Regions from separate parts of the Homo sapiens genome. Here region 2 is linked to region 1. The links are contacts of gene promoters, found by promoter capture Hi-C in blood cells and fetal thymus (Javierre and others, 2016). All regions are on one chromosome and are shown on one strand. The core of a region is centred on a gene start or on the middle of the fragment in contact, and the rest is flanking DNA. Distances in the headings are between cores, read along the strand shown. Region 1 holds the start of HMGXB4 (HMG-box containing 4). Region 2 holds the start of RTCB (RNA 2',3'-cyclic phosphate and 5'-OH ligase).

Region 1 (4,581 bases), core at 2,082-4,581:
GACAAGAGCAAAACTCCATCTCAAAAAAAAAAAAAAAAAAGAAAAAAGTCATTAGCTGAAGTATAAGCTCATGTTAGCAGTGCTTTATCCTGACAGCAATGGCGGATGGACTTCGAAGTGGGGAAGGGGCCCTGAAGATAAAAATCCATTAGGAAGCTATTGTAATAGCCCAATGAGAGATGGCCCATCTATTGGGGCACATTTTTCTTTTACATTTGTACCATAGTAATTATGGACTTAGACTTGTTTTACATTGCCCACAAAACACACATACACACAGAAGATAATAAGTTGCTCAAAAGCAGGAAAACAAGTATCATTGCTTCACCATAGGGGACATTTATTATTTGTCTTCCCAGAATAGATCCCCTTTCTTTTATAGAAGGACTAATGTCCTATTGCAACTTTGTGGTATCCCAGGAACTATCACAATACTGAATGATCACATGACCCCATCCCAGCCAATTGGAGTTCTTCTCTTGGATTTTGTGCGCGCGCGCGCGCGCGTGTGTGTGTGTGTATGTGTGTTGCTGATGTGGGAACATGCTCTTTCCTCTCTGGTCAGGAGACTATAAAGATGTAAGCCTGGGCTACCTGTGGCCATGATTCCAGGCCCCTAGGGACTGCCAGCCTGAGAGAACAGAGTTAAGAGGGAAGGATTTGAATCCCCGGACCCAGCTGTCCAGAGGGCCTGCTTCTCTCTGGCTCTGAGTAGTTTTTGTTTTGTTTTGTTTTTTACATGAGTTACATATTTTCTACTGGTCTCTTTATTTTTTTAATTTTGCAATTTAGGGCATACACACAGACTGAGAATCTGTGGTATGTCCCTCTGCCTGTCTCTTAAGGTAGTTTTAATTAGGTCCTGTCACTTCTAGCAAAAGGCCCTGGCCTAATGTATGTACCCAGGATGGCATCCTCCCATCAGACCGAAGACAAAGACGCTGCTCAAAACACATCTGGAAAGAGAAGAGCACAGAAAAGTGGCCTGAAGAAAGAGATGTCCAAACCAAGCACAATTTGACAGGCCCCACCTGTTGCTGCCAGGCACCAGGCAGTTTTCCTTAGATCAGGTGGACCAGAGAACTGCCCCACACTTAGGGAGTGCCCCCTCTTCACATATGCTAGATGCTATCCTCACTTGCCATGGGAAAAGGCATTCTTATTCACAAACCCCACCATGACTAGGCCTGCCCAGAGGGTCCTCTTTTCTGTCTTTCCAAGTTTCAAAAATGCAAGAGAACTATGAAAGATAGTCAGCAAAGAATACTTTTCCAGCAAGGTACAGAGGAAGCACTTGAATACATTCAAGGAACTATGATCTCCTGGCTCCCACCACCAACCCACTTCTGGCTGAGCTAGCTCCGGTGTGCACCTCAACAGAGAAGCCTCCCTGATTACTGTTTTAAAGAACAAGCTGTTCCTACCCACATCCCCTGCTGGTACTCTCGTAGCCAACCTGGCATTATTTTCTCCACCTCTGATTATCACTGAATGTAGTATTCATATCTTAATTTTGTGTCCCCCAACCCAACCGGAATGTAAGCTCCTGGGGGCCAAGGACTCTCAATTCTGTTCACTGTTCTATTCCCAACACTTAAGACAGTACCTGCCACATGCTGTGTTTTCAATAAATATCTGTTTAATAAATGGAAGTGCAATGATCCAAGACTGGGAGCAAGTTAATAGCATTTTGTGATTGAGTGAGTAGGCTGAGGAGAGATCTGACTTCAGGTCTCCAGGAGCTTAAAATGAGCAAGAACTTGATATGCTCCATCTTCAGGTGGACTAAAAGAAGAAATGGGACCAATAGGACTCATAAGGCTTTTAGGTCCAAGCTAGTGGTAGAGTGTGGGGACAGCTACTGTTTTTGCCTACCTAACATGCACTCACCCTTCTGACAGCAACCCTTGATTTTCTTTGTGTCTACCCCAACCTAATTTTGGAGGTAAGCAGATGACCTAATTTAACCAATCAGCAGCAGCAGCAGACTCCACACCTTTACTCATAGTGATTGCTTTTTGTCTGGACACATGATCTAATTCAGGCAATAAGAATCAATCCCATGACTTTTGCCAAAGCAAAAGGGAAAAAGAAACTCCTTCCAGGGCCAGGCATGGTGGCTCACATCTGTAATCCCAGCACTCTGGGAGGCCAAGGCAGGAGGATTGCTTGAGTCCAGGAGCTTGAGACCAGCCTGGGCAACATGGTAAAAAAAAAACAACAAAAAAAACCCATCTCTACAAAAAATACAAAAAGTACCTGGGCATGGTGGCATGCACCTGTGGTCCCAGCTACTTGGGGGGCTGAGGTGGGAGGATTGCTTGAACTCAGGGGGTCGAAGCTGCAGTGAGCTGTGATCGTGCCACTGCACTCCAGCCTGGGTGACAGAGAAAGACCCTGTCTCAAAACAAACAAACAAAACCTCCCTCCACAGGGACACTGCTAGCAGGAAAGATGATGAAGCTTGGAGCTGCTGGAGTCATCACCTGAATCTGAGAATAAAGCTAACAGAGGAGAGCACCACAGACACGTCAAAGGACCAGCTTGAGTTACCTCCCTGGAAGTGACCATGTCTGCAGGTACTGGAAATTTCAATCATGTGAGCCAATAAATTCCCCTCTTCTGGGGAAACACATGGAAATGGGTTTCTGTCACAACTGAAATCATCCTGACCAATGGATTTAGGGCTCTGAAGAACAAAAAGGAAATACATCATTAGGGCTCTTAAATGCCTCAAAGGGAAGCCTAACGTCAGGCAGGGTGTCCCAGAAATGCAATCTAACACCTTTTGGTGAAACTCATTGCCTGTCTTTTTGGTGAGTAGGATGGGAGCTGCGGAGAAAAAGGCCATGCTACTTTTATTAAGTATTTGCAGTTACATTTTGCAAATGATTTCAGCAACTTTATCTCAGGTGTTTTAACATCTCAGCATCTCACAGTTGTAAGAAACAGAATCAATCTTCTACTCAGTGCAGAGGGGGAGAGAGCATGATATAGCAAAAAGAGCACTGAACCAGAGTCTAACAATCTGGCTTTTCATCTTTATCTGATCACTGATTAGAGTGTGGTCTCAGACAAATCACCTTGCTTTTATTGGTCTCATGACTACCTCGTCTTCAAGCACTCACCCAACTCTGCAATGGAAAATACACTAGGACAGAGGTTCTTAATTTTTTATGGGGCCTGGGCCCTAGGAAAACACACACTGCACACATGATTTTACGTTGCATGGGGTTCACAACTCTAGAAGCCAATCTACATCTCTAACTTCTCTGCTTTACAGTAACACCAGCTTCTGCTTGAGCGCTCCTCCAGTGGGAGGGAGCTCACTACTCACAAGGAAGCCCATTGTACTACTGAACTGTACTAGAAAAATAAGTTATTCTTCATATATATATATATTTTTTGAGATGGAGTCTCACTCTGTCCCCCAGGCTGGAGTGCAGTGGCGCAATCTCGGCTCACTGCAATCTCCGCCTCCCGGGTTCAAGCGATTCTCCTGCCTCAGCCTCCTAAGTAGCTGGGATTACAGGCACGCGCCACCACGCCTGGCTAATTTTTTGTATTTTTAGTAGAGACGGGGTTTCACCACATTGGTCAGGCTGGTCTCGAACTCCTGACCTCAGGTGATCCACCCACCTCAGCCTCCCAAAGTGCTGGGATTACAGGCGTGAGCCACCGCCCCTGGCGTTCTTCTTCATATCAAACCAAGTTCTATACACTGTAATTTCTACTCATTGGTCGAAGTTCTCAATGGCAAATCAGAAAAATTGTGTTCTCGCCTGTATATGACATCTCTTCCTCTCTCTCTCTGAAGACTGTTTCTAACTAAAAAATGTAGATGATTCGCCATGCAAATTATTTTACTGTACATTGTTACAAAGATAAGTTCTTCACCTCACCCCTAATATGCCAAATGTTCAAATGTAGATGCTGAAGTCCAAATAAGCACACTGCTATTAATCTGCATAGATCTAGGTGTTGCAAAGAGGAGAACTGCTGTATAACAATATCTTGAAAGAAACAGCATAGTATTTTGGGGAAAGCACTGCATTCAGAATCAGAAGACTTGGAGTAATACTCGGTCTCACATTCCAACTACCTGTGTATCCTTGGGCACGTCACTTAACTTCTCTCAGCCTGGTTCTCTTCTGCAAAATGCGACAGGAATACAGTGAGGATTAAGTGAAATAATGTTTGTAAGCTTCTAGGGCAAGGCTGGGACATAGCAAATTCTCAATAAATAAGTGCCAGCTCCCGCGCTCAGCAGGCTCCGAGTTTTATTCGATGCGCTCGGCGCTCTTGGTCGAGCGGGATTCCCCCTCCGGAGCCCGAGTCTGCGCTCTGGGCTCGACTGAGGCTCCCTGGCCGCTCGCGCTTTTCTCTCCTTCTCCAAGATGGCGGCGATCGGCGGCGTTGAGGCGGGATCCGGGCGAGCCGAGTGAAGGTAGCGGCGAGCGGAGACCCCAGGAGACCGGGCTGGGCCCCCACCCTGAGGCGGCAGCAGCCCCGCCCCGTCGCCACCCGCCGCCCTGGGCCCGCGACATCACCTCTGGGGTGCCCCAGGCCCTTCGCGGCCTA
Region 2 (4,235 bases), core at 1,019-3,518, 2.8 Mb before region 1:
AGCTAATTTTTTGTATTTTTAGTAGAGACGAAGTTTCACGTGTTAGCCAGGATGGTCTCGATCTCCTGACCTCATGATCCGCCCATCTCAGCCTCCCAAAGTGCTGGGATTGCAGGCGTGAGCCACCGCACCCAGCCAGTACAGCCCTTATATTCTGATAAGAATATCAGAGTGCAATGAAGCAAGTGCCATAACATTAAGTACACAGTGCTATGGAAGAATCTGATGAGGAAGTGCCTCAACAGTCTAGGGAGCTGGGAGAGGTTTCACAGAGATCCTGTAGAGCTGGTTCTTTGAAGACAAGAGACATCACTGGCGCAGCAGAACATCTAGGAACTAAACGCAAAAATGACGTAAAGATGGGAAGGGAGTGTTTTAAGGGAATAAAGAGAAATTTTTAGTCCAACATGTGGGTCTTGGGGGAGAAATGGAGATTTAGTAACAGATGATTATCTGTGTGAAATTCACTGCTCTCATATGGAAGCACAATTCACGCTTAGAAGTCAATAGCGTTTTAAGAGCAATGCATTAACATTCCAAGTCTCTATTCCCAAAGGAAAGGTGGTAGTAAAGTGCTGTATACAAACTTAAACCAGAACTGCCTAGCAAAATGAGACTTGCCCCTAGATAGAATGAGCAGCAGTGTGTGCATCAAAGGCTGAGTCAGAACACCTGCCAGACAATGACAGTCTGTGTTATTAGATCCTACAGATAATCATGTCATGGTGTTTTCTTTTTCTTTTCTTTTTTTTTTTTTTTGAGACTCACTCTGTCACCTAGGCTGGAGTGCAGTTTAGAATGATCACGGGTCACTGCAGCCAAGATCTCCCAGGCTCAAGCGATCCCCCTGCCTCAGCCTCCTGAGTAGCTGTGGTGCACACCACCCCGCCTGGCTAATTAAATTTTTTTTGTAGAGACAGGGTCCCACTATATTGCCCAGGCAGGTCTCCAAAGTCCTAGGCACAAAGGATCTTCCCGCCTTGGCCTCCCAAAGCGTTGGGATTACAGGCCATGAACCACTGCGCTCTCCCTATGTTAGATTTTCTATTCCTTCCTTCAGGGTAACGGTTTCCACACAAAGAAAGTGGCCAAACAGCAAACAGAACACAGATTTATCCCCGTGCGCTTTTTCTTCCCTCAGTGTAAGTGACTTGCCAACAAGGGAAACTCAGTAAGCTTTGATTCTGAATAAAAGAATGGAGTGACTATTGGGAGCTGTTTACCAAGACGTGAGACGAGACGGTAAACCTTTGAAGCATTTACTTGGCACCTTCAGGGATTTCAAAAACTATTTAAAAATACGTTGCAAAACTTCATAAACGTTTTCTTTTTTCACATTAATAAAAATATGAGCACAGATGGTGATGAAGGCCGAGAGATACAGAGCCCAGGCTTTCAAACTATCTGATGATCCTGAGCCCTCAAGTCTCCATCTGGGACGTCAAAGAAGTAAACCGGACATCAAGTCCTGGCTGAGCTTCTTCCTAGGTGGGTAGAGGAAGCTATGTCACCGACAGATCCTCGAGGTCCTTCTGTGAAGTGAATATTAAAATCAAACAGGCCCTGCCCTGCGCTACTGCAAGAAATGACATCGCTTTATTAAAAACCAACATGCGATACTGAATGCTGAAAACCTGGTTTAGTGAACAAAGGTTTGTAAACGTTATTTAAATAACCAGCATGACTCAGAGGAGGTGAATTCCAGTCCCAGCAAATGAACCTGGGGCTGGCTGTTCCACCCTGGAAAAGATCACTGAAGTTTCTGTGAACGTAAAACAGCTCACGATACGTTTATGAGACTGATCTGTGAAAACGCTTTGGAAACCCCAATTTCGTATTTATTTAGATTCCCATATCCACCGCACTTAGCTTGTCCTCGTGGTTCGGGGACCTCTCCTGGCGGGAGGTGGTGCCGGAACAGGTTGGGCGGCCCCAGAACCGTGAGGGGAGAAGGACGGGATGAGGGAAACTCTGCAAGGGGCCGGGGCGGACCCAGTGGTCAGGGGAGGTCCAGAGGGCGCAGTGGACGCCGGCCGGGCCGGGGACGGAGCACGGAAGGCCCCGCCATTTGCTCTCCTGCCTTACCTGCATGTTGGGCACGAAGCCCTTCTTGATCCTCCAGCAGTTTTTATTGATCTTCTCCAAGAACTGCAGCTCATCATTATAGCTGCGACTCATGGTGGCGAAAACTGTAGCAAAAACTCCCGGCTCCGCTTTGAAGAGCCGCTGCCGCGTAGTCCGGCTTCTCAGAGCACCGCCTTCCAAGAACCAAAGCGCAGGCGCGACCAGCGCCGCAGCAGATGAGCAACGGCAAGCGCCGAGGCTCAAAATTCTTCAGGCCAATGTCTTTCCTCTGGTTAAGTTGTACTGTCCTGTAGTGTATAACTTTAGGATCTTTATTAGTCGATTTCCTCTAAACTACAGCTAAGCGAAATCCAGAAGTTTAAAGTATAATCTAGTTATCTTTTGTTTTGGAAATGCTTTTCAGCAGCTTATGAAAACACCTTGAGTCTGGGTCAGGTTCGGTGCATTGGCTTGGAGTTTACACCCTCAGCTGGGAGGGGAAAAAGATAACGCCAGCAGCTGAGAAAGAAAAACCTGTTTGAGTAAATACCATAGCTGAACATTTATGTTTCAGAATGAATCTGGATATACACCAAATAACTTTTTTGGTCAGAAAGGAGCATCCCAAAGAATGAAGCATGGCAGCTTATCATTTATTCTGACAAACACTTGTGGGTGCATCTATTGTGGCCAGACATATACTACAAAATGATCAAATCACAGCCCTTATGGATCGCCAAAACTCCCCAGTCTAGCCGCATTTGATGATCAAGACCTCTTTAATCATGCTTTTATACGCCGTGTCTCTTGTTCATAGTGGTAAGTGAGCTTTAAGTGATTTCAGTTTCCAGTTCGGCCTCATGTCAACAACTGCAACTTTGGGATTAGAAAGACGCAAGATTCAATTTCTATCTGTGCCATTTACTGACTTGGTGTGATTAACCCCTCTTATCTCTGTTTCGTCATCTCTAAAATGGGATCATAATTCTTTCTTGAGTAGAAGGCTAAATGAAGTGACACTGGAGGGGTAATCAGCACGGGGCTTGGCACACGGCAAGCACTCTATAAACAGCTCTCCTCTTTCCATTCCCCCACTAGACTGTAAGTGCTGCAAAAAACAGTATGTAGTTTCCATTCATTTGTTGCATTATCTACACTGGTTCCGCTTTTCTTCTCTTCTGCCCCAATTTCTCCCCATTGATTAGGTGCTCTGACACATTAATATCATTCTCAGTTATGAATTGTCTGAGTTTAGTACTCTGCACTGCCATTTCATTGAATCTGTGGTGGGTGAAAAATCCCAAAGCTTGAAGTGATACAACTTTTAGAGTTTCCTGTGGTTACCCTGTTCCTTCTTGGAAAGATTTCAGAGGTAAAGAATTCTCTTTTAAAATCAAGCCTTGATGTCTGTGCAACCTTAGGTCTCTTCCCTTTTCTATGTCTTATTTTATTTTATTATTTTTTTGAGTTGGAGTCTTGCTCTGTCGCCAGGCTGGAGTGCAGTGGTGCCATCTCGGCTCACTGCAACCTCCGCCTCCCAGGTTCAAGCGATTCTCCTGCCTCAGCCTCCCAAGCAGCTGGGACTACAGGTGCGTGCCACCACTCCCAGTTAATTTTTGTATTTTTAGTAGAGACTGGGTTTCACCATGTTGGCCAGGATAGTCTCGACCTCTTGACCTCATGATCCGCCCACCTTGGCCTCCTAAAGTGCTGGGATTACAGGCATGGCCTACTGTGGCTGGCCTCTTATTTTATTTTTTAAAAATTCAGGGCAGGCCATTTCTCAAATAAAAAAACCAAGATTGAAGTTGATAGAAAACAATTTTAATTAAACACAGAAGATAGTAACAGTGAATATAAAACATGAAAACCAATATGCAGGTAGGGGAAAACCACTAGAGGGCCTAAGGGATTTCCACTGAGAATGACCAATACAAATACAGACTTAGAGTTGCTTACCCACCTGGTCAGAAGTACATGCCTAGCTCTTGTCCTAGAATCTTTCTTGCCCCAAACAAACAAACAAACATAAACACAGACACACGCAGCATGCATACACTCACATTCAGACACCTCTATTTATCCCTTTAACAGAGTCTGCCTTATTCTGGGTTCCTGAAGGCTTAAGAAAGAAAACTTTCTGCCTAAGCAATTCACAAGGGCTTTACAAT

The links. The method cuts DNA at HindIII sites, captures the fragments that hold promoters and counts their contacts. A CHiCAGO score of 5 or more calls a contact.
Region 2: a contact is called between the fragment with the promoter of RTCB here and a fragment that was not itself captured in region 1, in 1 of 17 cell types (total B cells). The highest score is 5.2, in total B cells.

Annotation. Positions count from the first base shown.
Region 1 is chr22:35,253,111-35,257,691 of GRCh38, forward strand. HMGXB4 (HMG-box containing 4) reads left to right here and starts at 4,383. Exons shown (of 11, transcript NM_001003681.3): 1 at 4,383-4,447. It overlaps LOC105373017 (a long non-coding RNA gene), which reads right to left. Exons shown (of 4, transcript XR_938210.3): 2 at 4,103-4,151. RefSeq lists an enhancer at 3,677-4,177 and a silencer at 4,443-4,581. The HindIII fragment of the contact is 1,741 bases long and covers 2,462-4,202 here.
Region 2 is chr22:32,409,979-32,414,213 of GRCh38, forward strand. RTCB (RNA 2',3'-cyclic phosphate and 5'-OH ligase) reads right to left here and starts at 2,269. Exons shown (of 12, transcript NM_014306.5): 1 at 2,086-2,269. The coding sequence starts at 2,178. It overlaps BPIFC (BPI fold containing family C), which reads right to left. Exons shown (of 17, transcript NM_174932.3): 17 at 3,867-4,235. RefSeq lists an enhancer at 2,239-2,418. The HindIII fragment of the contact is 2,194 bases long and covers 1,175-3,368 here.